4 separate regions of the Homo sapiens genome follow, and regions 1, 2 and 4 are each linked to region 3. The links are contacts of gene promoters, found by promoter capture Hi-C in blood cells and fetal thymus (Javierre and others, 2016). All regions are on one chromosome and are shown on one strand. Each heading gives the region's core, a stretch centred on a gene start or on the middle of the fragment in contact. The rest is flanking DNA. Distances are from core to core; before and after follow the strand shown. Region 1 has its middle 17 kb from the start of ATG5. Region 2 overlaps OSTM1 (osteoclastogenesis associated transmembrane protein 1). Region 3 holds the start of BEND3 (BEN domain containing 3). Region 4 overlaps CRYBG1 (crystallin beta-gamma domain containing 1).

Region 1 (3,252 bases), core at 533-3,032, 770 kb before region 3:
GTAGTTAGGACTGTCCCAGATAGCTGTGACTACAGGCCCAAACCAGCACACCCAGCTAACATAAAGTGTGTTTTGACTGGCGATGTCTCTGGAGGCAATGGGAGCAATTGAAAAACTACCACAGTCAACTGGGAAATGATGACAAAGGCAAGGCAGTGGGATGAAGAAGAGGGTGGAAAGAAGAAATGTTCAAGAGGAATAATCAAGGACTTTAGTGACTGATTGGGTGAGTTTGTGAGGGCGGCTGAGGTGTTAGTGTTCAGGCTGTTAACCAAGACCAATGCCAAAACGAGATTACCCACTAGCAACACCAAACGCCTGCAAGGATGTGAGCAACAGGAAGTCTCATTCATTGCTGGTGGGAATGCAAAATGGTACAGCCACTTTGGAACACAATTTGGTGGCTTCTTACAAAACTAAACACAATCTTCCCATCTGATCCTGCAATTGGGCTCCTTGGTATTTACACAAAGGAGTTGAAAACTTGTGTTCATACAAAAACTTCTATCCATATGGATGTTTGTAGAAGCTTTATTCACAAATACCAAAACTTGGAGGCAACCAAGATATCCTTCAGTGGGTGAACGGATAAACTATGGTACATACAGACAAATAGAATATTATTCATCACTAAAAAGAAATGTGCCATCAAGTCATGAAAAGACATTTAATGAAACTTAAATGTATGTTGCTAAGTGAAAAAAGCCAGCCCAAAAAGGCTACATACTGTATGGTCCCAACTACACAACATTCTGGAAATGGTAAAACTATAAAGACACTTAAAAGACAAGTGATTGCCCTGTGTGGTGGCTCACGCCTGTAATCCCAGTACTTTGGGAGGCTGAAGCTGTTGGATCTCCTGAGGTTGGGAGTTCAAGACCAGGCTGGCCAATGTGGCAAAACTCTGTCTCTACTAAAAATACTAAAATTATCTGGGTGTGGTGGTGGGCACCTGTAATCCCAGCTACATAGGAGGCTGAGGCCAGAGAATCACTTGAATCTGGGTGGCAGAGGTTGCAGTAAGCTGAGATCACATGGCTGCACTCCAGCCTGGGCAACACAGTGAGACTCCATCTCAAAAAAAAAAAAAAATCAGGGGTTGAAGGGAGGGAGGGATGAACAGGCAAAGCACCAGTGACTCTTAGGGCAGTGAAACTACTCTGCATGACACTAGAATGGTGGATATATGTCATTATAAGTTATCCAAACCCCTAGACTGTACAACATCAAGAGTGAACCCTATGGTAAGCTATGGGCACTGTGTGATAATGATGTGTAAATGTAGGTTCATCAGTTGTAAACTACAGGCCTTATTTATGTAGTGAGGACTGTCTAAAATTAGCCCATGAATCACTGTCTCTAAGCATTGTTGTTTGCTGAAGTATTAATATTAATGATACAAAGAAATTATAAAACTGATAAGAAGAAAATTTTTAGCATGTGTTCCCTAGAGCTCAAAGTTGGTTAATGTCACTCTGGTGGGCAATGTTGTTAGTGGGGGGCTATACCTGTGTGGGGGCAGAGGATATATGGGAAGTCTCTGTACCTTCTATTCAAATTTCTTATGACCCTAAGAATGCTCTAGAAAAACTAAGTCTAAAAAAAAAAAAAAAAGAAAAAAGAAAAACTAAGTCTATTAAAAAGGTGGGGGATTACCTGCAAAGTATCCTTATGGAATTTTATGGTAACATCTAAAGAGATCTAGAGTTTGAGGGAGCAGTCTAGACTGGAGGCATTTTCTTAAGAAGACATTTATCACTCATGTTAGTCTGGGTCCTCCCAGAAGCAGACTCCAGGACAGGATTAAATTTACAAATATTTCTCTAGGAGAAGTCTCTGTGATAGAAAATGTAGGGGGGTCAGGCATGGTGGCTCACGCCTGTAATCCTAGCACTTTGAGAGGCTGAGGCAGAAGGATCGCTTGAGCCCAGGAGTTTGAGACTGGCCCAGGGAACATGGGGACATCCCTGAAAAAAAAAAAAAAAAAAGAAGGCCAGGCTCTGTGGCTCAAGCCTGTAATCCCAGCACTTTGGGAGGTGGAGGCGGGCGGATCAACTGACGTCAGGAGTTCAAGACCAGCCTGACCAGTATGGTGAAAACCTGCCTCTACTAAAAATACAAAAATTAGCCGGGCATGGCGGCACATGCTGTAATCCCAGCTACTCAGGAGGCTGAGGCAGGAGAATCACTTGAACTCCGGGGGGCTGAGGTTGCAATGACCCAAGATCACACCATTGCACTCCAGCTTGGGCAACAGAGCAAGACTTGGTCTCAAAAAAAAAAAAGAAAAAGAAAAAGAAAAGGAAAATGTAGGGAGAGAGGAGGGGCTGGGAAAGCCAGCTGTCAGTGGAGCAAAGGAGCAGGTGGATAGAAGCCAGTTTAGCCTAAGGTAGGTGCAACAAGAAATTTTTAGATGTCTCAAGCCAAAGTCATCAGTCAGAGGAGTCCCATGGAATAGGACTGCCCTCTAATCTCCAGCATGCTCAGTCCCTGGGCCCTCAATCAATCACTCTCACTCAGTAAAGATCTGTGAAGTGTATTCTCCTGACCACCACCACACTTTAACAAATACGTCTTATTTTAATATATACACATCAGTGTAAACAAAAGTTCAACACAATAAACTGTTCTTTGCCATCATGAAGTTCTGAGGGGCAGTGCATAGCTTTGCGTCTCTTGGCCACGGTTTCAGACCTTTCCTCTTCCCCTCTAGATGTCTCTGTAGTTCCTGATACTCAAATACCAGCTATTTAGGGATTAACAGATAAACCTATTCTTCATGCATTGCTGCTACATTGCTTTTTTGCCTACATGTCTTAATCTGATACTTCATTTAAAAAGCAGGATGTTTTGACCAGGCGTGGCAGCTCATGCCTGTAATCCCAGTACTTTGGGAGGCCAAGGGAGGTGGAACACCTGAGGTCAGGAGTTCAAGACCACTCTGACCAACATGGCAAAACCCTGTCCCCACTAAAAATACAAAAATTTAGCCAGGTGTGGTGGCATGCGCCTGTAGCCACATTTATTTAACCTTCCTAAGCTTTATTCTTCTCACCTATGAAATGGGGTAACAATAGTTGCAACCCTATAGTATTGTTATAGTAATAAATTATACATATGTTATATATACATAACAAATAAACATCTGTTTATATATGTGCTGTATGTTATATGCATATTTATATTTATATATATATACAATATTACACAGTGCCTGGTGTATGGTAAGCACTCAAAAAATTAACCATAATA
Region 2 (3,088 bases), core at 221-2,720, 940 kb after region 3:
TCTAGCCCGGGTGACAGAGCGAGACTCCGTCTCAAAAAAAAAAAAAAAAATTGAGCACATAATCCATTTAACTAAAATTGTGCACATAATCTAGATGGGGAGTAATTTAACCTTTTTTTTTTTTTTTTTTTTTGAGACACGGTCTTGCTATTTTGCCCAGGCTAATTTCTAACTCCTGGGCTCAAATGATCCTCCCACCTCAACCTTCCAAAGTGCTGGGATTACAGGCAGGTGCCACCATACCTGGCCACAATTTTTATTCAAATTTAAAATGCACATATCTTTTAATAATGTGAAAGTTGCAGACATTAGGATGAAATCACCTTTTGACAGACCAAGACAAAATAGAGACAAAAAGAGTCCTTGTTTCCAAAGACTTTCTAAAAACCCCACAAGAAATCCTTTCACGCCCTTCATTGCAACTCCTGCTTTCACATGGTTTATCACTGCCATTCTTTAGGACTGCAGTAATTCAGATAAGATGCACTCAAAAGAACACTTGCCCAGTAATGGCATCGCCACCAATGAACTGACAACTTGGCTTTGAGCCTCAGGAACCAATGAACTCAGTTTCCAAGCAGCTTGTGTGAACCTCTCCCTTTTTGCTAATAAAAGCTTCCCTTTACCCTTCCCTCACTGGATGTACTGGTGGTTTGCCAGTGCATTCCAAATTACCATACTTCTTTCTTATTCCCTAATAAACTCATCATATTTGGAGATAATTTTCTCTAGTGTCTTTTTCTTAGGCTGCCAATATAGTAATTCTACTTCTAGAAATCTACCAAACTCATACAAGTACTCTAAGTTAAATGAAAAGAAGACTGTTTATGGTGTACAATTTAAAACTTATTATTTCCAGAATTTTCCATTTAATATTTTTGGACTGCAGTTGGCCACAGGTAACTGAAACTGTGGAAAGTGAAGCCATATATAAAAGGGATGACTTTATAGAAAAATTGCTATTTGAGTGTTACAACACACATCAGTCCACTAAAGGCTCTGAAGTCCTGTAGTAAAGCATTTCCCAACCTTAATGGAATACTAAACCCTTTCTGATAGGACATCTATTAACATGCTGCAGAACAAATTCTGAGAAATGTTCACCTAATTTTTTTTATTTTATTTTTTTGAGACAGAGTCTCTCTGCAACGCCCAGGCTGGAGTGCAATGGCACGATCTCAACTCACTGCAACCTCTACTTCACTACAGGCGTGCACCACCAAGCCTGGCTAAGTTTTGTATTTTTAGTAGAGACAGGGTTTCACCATATTGGCCAGGTTGATCTCGAACTCCTGACCTCAAGTGACCTGCCTGCCTTGGCCTCCCAAGGTGCTGGGATTATAGGCATGAGATACTGCACCTGGCCCAATTTTTATTATTCTCAAGGAAATTCATAATTCAGTGTTACCACATTTATTACAGAAGAAATCATACATGCTTATACCCTAAGCATGTGTACATCTACTATGGGGATTACTTACTTGTTATGTAAGTTTCAAAACTACATTTTAACCAGAGTTCCAACCTCGTCCTTCACCACGACCGGGCAAGTTCCAATACCAAAATTCAAGAGTCAGAGATAGAGATGGCAATAATCTACAAGGTTAAGATTCTTAAAGCTACCTTTTATTATCATAATTCAATACTCAAAGTTATCTTACTAAACAGTGCTTTTTAAGGTAGGTAAAACATACTTAAGCAAATTTCAGGCAAAGAATAAACTTCCTATAGACAGAATCATACTACACTGCAAAATACCTACGTAAGTCAGATTGAAAACCATTGTGTTTTAATTAAACAATCACACACCTCAATCAATGTTTTCACAATCATTATCTCACCAGATTCTCATTACAAAATACTTTAAGATAGGCAGGATAGATATTATCTCCATTTTACAATGAGAGAACTGAGGTTTTCATGATTTGTAAGTAGAAGAACTTACTTAAGAGCAGAAATCCAGGTCCACTAACTCCTTTACATCATGAATTTAGATAAATATCAATAATTAGTGCTCTAAAAACTTGGAACTGCACATTATTCCTTTGTACAAGGCAGCATTTTAATTTTAAATATTATATATAAAATACCTGAAGGTTATGTTCAAAGCAGGTCAGGGTGTGATTAAATAGATTAAGGAAATATACTGTGCTGTTTGATAATTCTTCACTGTTGTTTGTTAAACAATCTGTCAAAAAAATTCAAAAAGTATATTAATATAACTCAAGGAACAATTCTATGTTGTCATTTATATCTTAAGCTATCAGCTTCGTTTCACACTACAGTAATTCTTTATTCAAACAAGCATGAATTTTCCAAATATATGAAGCTTACTCCTTTTATTTTCCAAAAGTTAAAAAAGTCATAACCATTTTCATGAACATGTTAAAATAATCACATACTCTCTTTTCATAAAAATATACCAAATAAAATTCAAATGGACTTTTGATGGCACAAGGTCATAATCACGGAATATCAGCTATCAAATGCTGCCTTAACAGTGCTATTTAGGCATAAGACTGTTTACCCTGCATTAATTTTACCGAAACTCATATGCCTTATCATTTTTTGTGTCAAATTTCATAGTTCTCTGCATCTTCCAACTTCACTAATGAGTCATTTATTGTACCTAATGGGGTAACTTTTAAAATTCGCTCTTTCTAATCCATCACGAGTTGGGAGCCCAGAGAAACAAACTGGTGAGAATTTTGCCTAAAATACTGACGTGGGGGCTTCAAGTAAAGTCTAGAAACAAAATTGTTTTACATTTTTAAAAATCCTACATAAATGGTATTTCTCTGCAACTGGCTATTCTTGCTTAGAGTTAGCTCAAGTTCACTCATCCCTTTTATTTTCTATGTATGTGTATATCACAATTTATGTATCCATTTTCCCTTCTTCAGGGAATAATCTATTCTTCTTTTTTTTTTTAAGAAACGGGGTCTTGCTCGGTTGCCCAGGCTGGAGTGCAGTGGCACAATTTGCCAGCTCATTGCAGACTTGAACTCCTGGGCGCAAGTGATGTTCCCACCTCAACCTTCCAAAGTGCTGGGATTACTTAAAGGCATGAGCCACTGCGCTCAGCCAG
Region 3 (3,407 bases), core at 292-2,791:
GGAGATGAACTGCACATTTCCAACTCTAGTGAGTAACCTTGTTCCTCCCGGCACTCTTGTCGAGTTAGCGTTTACGTGCAGAATTCTTCCAGAAAGACCACCTGAGCAATCAATAAAACTTTTATCTCTGTAAAAACACCTTGTTTAAAATAGCTACATAGGGAGACGTAGGTAAACAAGCACACAAGGGCCTCCAAATCGGTGGTGCACAGCTCACGGATGAGGCAAGGGCAAAGCATGCGTGGGAAATCACGTTTATCATAGAGAAGGAAAGGAGCGCTCACGAGGAGCGGCGAGCGCCCCAGGCTTCAGCTTTGCGGCCGGCCGGCCAGGCCTCGCGCCAGCCCGGGTGCACACCCAAGGCGCCGGGCCCGCCTCCAGCTCCTGGGCAGCGGGAACCGCGAACCGCCGTGGAACGGCCGGGAAGGGAGCGCTGCGCCCCCTGGCGGCGGGGCCCATCCCTCTCCGCTCCCGGCCGCCGCCGCCGCGGGCCGGCCTCGCTCCATTTGCAGCCTCCGGAGGCTTCGTTCCTCCGAGCGGCTGCTCCCCCGGCCTCCCGCTCGCCGCCCGGCATCTCCCTCCAGTCCCCGCCCCCTGCTCCCGCTCCGACACCCCCTTCCACACGCCGAGCAGTGCCCCGCCAAAGCCCCGCCGAGCGCGAGCGCCAAGCCGCCGCGAGTACGGCAGAGCCTTCCGGCCGCCCCGGCCGCTCCATCGCGGCGCCCGGCGGGGGTGCGGGGCCGGCGCGCGGCGCGAGTGGGGCGGGCGGCGGCGGCGGCGCGGACGGTTCCACCGCGCGAACCCCCCGCCCCCGCGCGGCGCGCGTGCTCCCCAGAACGCCATGGAGCCGCCGCGTTCCGAGCGGGCACAAAGGGGCGCGCAGCACAATGGGCGCGGCGAGCCCGTGGGCGCCCGGCGCCCGCTCCGGTCGCTCGGCCCGCGCGGGGGTGGGCGCTACTACCGGCGGGCGCGCTCGGAGCAGCCCCCCTCCGCGTCCCCTCCCCTGCTCCCGCCCCCACCCCGGCATGGATGTTGCAGCCACTCTACCGGCCGCTCGCCCCGGAGCCGCCAACGCTGCCGCCGCCGCGCGGCCGGCTTGATCCGCCCCGCACTTACCTGGGACGCGAGTTCTGTACTTTGCCGGGCGGGCCCGCGCCGAGTTTGGGCGCCACGTGGGGGGGAGGGCGCGGGGCCGGGGAGTGGGGGCCGCGCGCGGAGGGCCTGGCCAGGGCGGCCCGGGGAGGCGCTGGGGGCGGCGGGCGGGCGAGCGCCGTGTATTTTCCCCTCTCTTTGTGTGTGTCCGTGCGCTGCGCTCTCGCGTGACGTGACGGGACTCCGTGTGTCATTTCCGCACAAGGACACAGGAGCCCCCGCTGCAGTGGAACCACAACCCCTCCGCCCCCACCCCCGGCCCGCCCCTCCCCCTCAGCGGGGCACACGCGGGACCGGCGGCGGCGGCGCTCGGGCGTGAACGGCCGCGGCGGGGAGCTCGGGCGCGCACTCCCGGGACCCAGGCGGCCCGGCGCGCTCGGCCAGCGCAGTGGCTCCACGTGGGCCCGCGCTGGCTGCCCGGGGCGGGGGCGGCGGCCGCGCACCCACGGCGCGCCGGGCAGGCGCCGCGAACAATGTCCCCTGTACCCCATGTGTCCTCCCACCGCGAGTTCGTCCTCGGAAACGTGGTTTCTCAGACCCGAGAGTTTGGCCCCAAACGGCTTTTTCTACTTTTTTGCCCCTTGCGGGACGGCGACTGTGCGGAGCTTGTCCCGCCTCGCGCCCACGCCTCTCCCGCATTTTTGGCCTTTGGGCCGCAGCCCAGGCCCCCGGGGCCGGTCTTCCCGCGCCGCCACCGGCACAAAGACCTTGGGGCGCGAGGGCCCGGGTGGCTCCTGCGGCCCCGCGGGGCGGCATGGAGTCCGGCGGGACCCGGGAGAGCGACCCTGGCGCTGGGAAAAGCTGGCTCTGGCCACTCCCCCTGCACGGTGGCCGCCCTCTGTTGTGAGCCTCAGAGCTAAAATCTGCTCTTGCAACCCGAAGTTCTGGGGTGTGAGGCTGCGGAGCGAGAGCTTCGGAAGCGCCCGCGCTCACAGACACACACCCCACAAACACAAACCCACGGGCTGTCTGCGCCGAGCGCCTAAAATAGAAAAACACGAGTCACCAACTCAATAAAGGCTGATTCTGTCTACTCCTAACTCTTGGACTGTAGATTCCCAGTTGATAAATACGAAATCTACCCCTCGGGTATTTTCTCAAGTCTCAGTGGCTGGGTAGGGGGAGGGGGAGGTGCTGGGTGAGAGTCAGGGAAGCCCAATTCAACAGTTTAGCCACGTTTGTATTTTAGGCAAACAATGAGAATGTAAATTTAAGAAAAATCCTTTAATTTGCCGATCAAAGAAAGTATAAAAAGAAAAATGCAAATGATCCCATCTGCTGCTCACAGCTGACTGGCTGCAAGGGAGGACCATGTGGCACGGCCCTGCGCGGTCAGTGAATAGGTAGAATAGATTTTTAAAAGAAGGCATATGTTGGCTCCTTGCTGCCCAGTCGCGGCGAGGGTTTGAATTAACGTATAGTTTGGGTTTACCGTACCCTCCTTCAGACCACTCCAATTGGGAATTTAGTAATTATGCAAGTTCCCCCCCTTCGGGCTTGAAATCAAAAGGCACAGGGTTAAGTTTGAGGAACTACGTGGAACATTCTCGAGCTGTATTTGGATTACTGGTTTAGTGAAGTCAGTACTAATTGCTATGCAAAATTAAGCAAGCAGCCTGAAGAACCAAGCCCTGCATCCAGGGGGTGCTTTTATAGAAGAATCTATACGTGCTCAGTGTCATTGAAAACAGGATGATGAAAAGAATGGGGCCGAGATAGCAGCCCTTCAAATTCAAAAGACTTAGGTCGCCCTATCTACATTTAAAATAGGGCGGAGGGAGGAAGGGAGGAGGACTGCTTGGGGGAGAATGGTTAATTTATACATTCGCAGAAGACTGAGGGGAGGCACTTCGATTTCTGCAGAGAACTTGACTTTTACACTTGCACATTAAATAACACGTACGACACAGTACATCGCTTGACTTAGTTAACAGATACACCAGTTTTATTCTCACCTTCAATTTAATGTGACAGTTATAATTAGAATTTTTAAAGTAGAAGTTGCATTTCATTAGTTCAGTTTTCTAGGATTTCCCAGTAGAAGAGTTAGGAATAGTTAAGTAGCACTTAAGCACATTTTGCATTTAAATCACTTTGCTGTGGTGCTTTAAGAATGTAAAACGACCTTGTTAAATTTTTGGAAAGAGGACTAGATGAAACGTGTGTAGTGAGGGGATATATATTTAACCAATCTTTCACAGTGACAACTCAGGTTTTTAAGGAGAAATTAAATAATAAGACAATAGAGATAGAAA
Region 4 (3,420 bases), core at 495-2,994, 730 kb before region 3:
CTAGACTATGGTGCACCAAGGGAAGATAGATATGCACTCACTTCTAGAAGGAAACACCTCTAAGAGACACTGAAGCAGTACACCAGGAAGCAATGAACAGTCCTCCTCAGCTGTGTCAGTTTCCTGTCTACCTCTAAACAAAGGCATGCAACAGCCAGGGAGGGGCAGGCTTCTGAGCTCTTAATAGCCTTAGATTTGGGAGGCCAGCCATGGGCATTGCAAAAAACATGTTGACAGTACACGTGTGGTCAGTAGTCAAAATTGCAGGGCCTAATTGCTGGCTACATCTAGGACATAGCACTTTAAGGGGAGTAGTATCCATGAGGACTTTGTTGATGCAAAGGGCAAAACTACACGGGGAATCTGATTTATTTTGTGGAAATTCTTCTTTTGATAGAGAAAGAAATTCTCTGGTATGTTGTAAAAGAATATTAGGAGATACAGAAATTTTTATTAGGTTTTATGGGAAATCAAACCAGTTATTAGCATCATTCCTGAAAGATTTTGAAACATCTGGACTTTGAAATTTTTGTTCCTTCAGTGTCACCAGTTTTGTGAAAACTCCCTATTGCTTTCTAGGTAAAGTTGGCTTCTAAAAATGAATTTTTTGGCCAAGCATGGTGGCTCATGCCTGTAATACCAGCACTTTGGAAGGCCAAGAATAAAATAAAAATAATAAAAATCAAATTTTCTACCAATTGCTCTTTATACAATGGAAAAGAATGTAATCTCTGTTAGAATTATAATTTTCTTTCATATTTTTGTAATAATTTTGATTTTATTTTTAATATTTATGCCAGAATCAAAAGCCAAGTGTTTGGAAATAGTTTCTGTGCTATTGGCATGCAAAAGCTAGCTTTGGATGATAATCCATACACTTGTGATTATTATAAAAAATTGTGATTAACTATAACATTACCTGATGAATCATTGTCCTTGAGTTAGACACATTGCAAAAGACAATTGTAATTAGAACATCATGACTTTATTATTATTAAGTAATCTGCTTACTACAAAATTATTGATATCTAAGTAGGGCTAATGGGAAATCCTGCAATTTTTTGTGTGTGTCTCTATATCCACAAAAGGCAAGTAAGTAATCAAGTGGGCAGAAAGACTCTTGAGGTAGCTTTTTCCAGAATGGAGGTAGTGAGTTCAACTTGAACTAGTCATGGAACCAGAATTTTAAAGATTTTTTTAAAAGTATATGAAGATATTACCTCATCTAGTATTTCTCAAAATGTGTTAAATATCCAAATCAAAATCACTCAGGTGTAAAAAGCAGATTTCTGTTCCTCTAGAAATTCAAATTTGACAGATCTGAGGTCTGCATCTTAACCTCCATAAGTAGTCGTTAAAGTTTGAGAACCAAGGATCTAGCCCAGTTGGGATTAGGAAACTGAAATCCCAAAAGGGACTTGCCAAGGGCACCAGGCTATTCAGTGGCAAAGCTGGGGCCAGAACCAAGCTTTCTCTAGTTTAATGTTCATAAATGCATGTCCCAAACTTATCCTTTGCTTAAGTGATGATAAGTAATCTTTTACTATAGAATCAAATACAGCAGATGTATTAAGTCTCAATCCTTTCATAAATGTAAATGTGTAAATGAAATTTACACAGACTAGAATAATAGAATAGTTTATAGTTTTGAAAGGCTGGACTTTAGTTCCTGAAAGACTGTGAAACAAAACAGACAAAAAGTGCTGGTATGAACAGATCGCTAACAAGGCTCCCATATGAATGTATCATATGATATGTCACACATGTTTTTCCTCTGATCAGTTCTTTATTTCCACATCTATTGCTCATATTTGGCAAGTTTGCAATAGATAACTTCCTCCTGCAGTTTTTCATATGCAATCTCCTAAGTGTTCCAATGTGAATACACTACTTAGAACCACATCGTTGATGACTATCTGGGCTGGTGAGTTTTTGAGATTAGTACATGGGGCTAGGGAAGTTATAATTGTGGTTCTCAACCCTGTGTGTGGCCAGTCAGCTTTGCACAGAGAGAAAAAAAGAAGCTTCCTTGTTCATAAACTGCATTTCTAACAAAGCAAGTCTTCCTGCAGATGTGTAGTGTTGGCCATGCAGGTACCAGGTGACAGCAGGTGTGAACTCAGCACAGCACATCACCTCTATTGAGGAGCAGCTTGCAGAGCACTTACTGCTGATGGTGTGAGGTCAGTGTCACCTTTGTTTAGGATGGAAAATAGCATGAGTTTAAACTGTGACCCAAAACAAGGCTACAGAGACTCCTCTTTGACCTACTGGCTTTCTGGGGACTTCCCATCGGTAACTGAGGCCCTGTTCTTTAGAGCAGTGGTCCCCAACCTTTTTGGCACCAGGGACCAGTTTCATGGAAGATGATTTTTCCATAGACCGGGGGAAGACGGGGACGGGGATGGTTTCAGGATGATTTAAGTGCATTACACTTATTGTGCACTTTGTCTCTCTTATTACTACATTGTAATATATAATGAAATAGTTATACAACTCACCATAATGTAGAATCAGTGGGAGCCCTAAGCATGTTTTCTTGCACCTAGATGGTCTCATCTGGGGGTGATGGGAGAGAGTGACACTCGAATTGCGTTGTTTATGTCCAGTCTACTCCGTAATCTCATTTTGCTTGCAGTCACTGAAGAAAACCCTGCTTCACAAAGATAGGATGTTGGAAATGGAAGCATGCTTCTCAGTGCTTTTGTGGCAATCTCAGAATATTCTGGCTTGATTCCATCCAGAATGTATGGAGATTTGAAGTTTTCTCATACTTTTAAGTATGTTAAGTATGTTTTAAAAGTAAAACATACTTTTAAGGCCACCCTAATTTGTGATCTCAAGCAGGTGATCCTCTTCTAACTCAGACAACATCAATTCACCTGGCTTATTCACAAATGGGTCACAGATACATTCTTCCCAGTTCAGGTGTCTTTTGTGTTTGGGGTGCAGTCTCTTTCAAAATCTCTGCTAATGTTTGAAACATGTCAGAAATCCCAATGTTCACTCATCACTCCCATAATTCCAGTTTGGCTTTGAATGCAGCCACTTTATCTGCCGACTTGAACATAGTTGTCATTCTCCCATGAAGTGACAGATTGAGTTCATTGAGCAGGTTGAATATGTCACACAAGTAAGCAAGTTTTGCCACTGATTCTGTGTCACTGAAATGTGCTGCCAGTGGTGACTATTTTTCTAAAAGAAATCCCTGAAACAGCTCTCATAACAAAAACTCTGGCCAGTGATCTACCTTTAGAAAACCATCTCACTTCTGTGTATAAGAGAAACGTGTGTGCTCTGCATCCATCTCCTCTCAGAGCTGCTCAAACAGACATGGGTTAAGGGCATGTACTTTAATGGTGGTTGATAATATTAATCACATCCTGCAAGACATTGTTAAGTTCAGGTGACAGTTTTTGG

The links. Contacts are between HindIII fragments. The CHiCAGO score rates a contact against its expected background, and 5 or more counts as called.
Region 1: a contact is called between a fragment that was not itself captured here and the fragment with the promoter of BEND3 in region 3, in 1 of 17 cell types (total B cells). The highest score is 6.1, in total B cells.
Region 2: a contact is called between a fragment that was not itself captured here and the fragment with the promoter of BEND3 in region 3, in 1 of 17 cell types (naive CD8 T cells). The highest score is 7.5, in naive CD8 T cells.
Region 4: a fragment that was not itself captured here is called in contact with the fragment with the promoter of BEND3 in region 3 in 1 of 17 cell types (M0 macrophages); the score reaches 5.2 in M0 macrophages.

Annotation. Positions count from the first base shown.
Region 1 is chr6:106,340,781-106,344,032 of GRCh38, forward strand. No RefSeq gene overlaps it. Among named protein-coding and RNA genes, the nearest start is that of ATG5, 17 kb to the left of the region's middle. The HindIII fragment of the contact is 2,511 bases long and covers 528-3,038 here.
Region 2 is chr6:108,052,400-108,055,487 of GRCh38, forward strand. It overlaps OSTM1 (osteoclastogenesis associated transmembrane protein 1), which reads right to left. Exons shown (of 6, transcript NM_014028.4): 3 at 2,091-2,188. Among named protein-coding and RNA genes, the nearest start is that of OSTM1, 21 kb to the right of the region's middle. The HindIII fragment of the contact is 1,714 bases long and covers 614-2,327 here.
Region 3 is chr6:107,113,974-107,117,380 of GRCh38, forward strand. BEND3 (BEN domain containing 3) reads right to left here and starts at 1,542. Exons shown (of 4, transcript NM_001367314.1): 1 at 1,117-1,542. RefSeq lists silencers at 256-1,165, 1,296-1,345, 1,386-1,435 and enhancers at 2,028-2,791, 2,792-3,407. The HindIII fragment of the contact is 6,658 bases long and covers 1-3,407 here.
Region 4 is chr6:106,381,942-106,385,361 of GRCh38, forward strand. All of the region lies in intron 1 of CRYBG1 (crystallin beta-gamma domain containing 1), which reads left to right. Among named protein-coding and RNA genes, the nearest start is that of CRYBG1, 23 kb to the left of the region's middle. The HindIII fragment of the contact is 556 bases long and covers 1,467-2,022 here.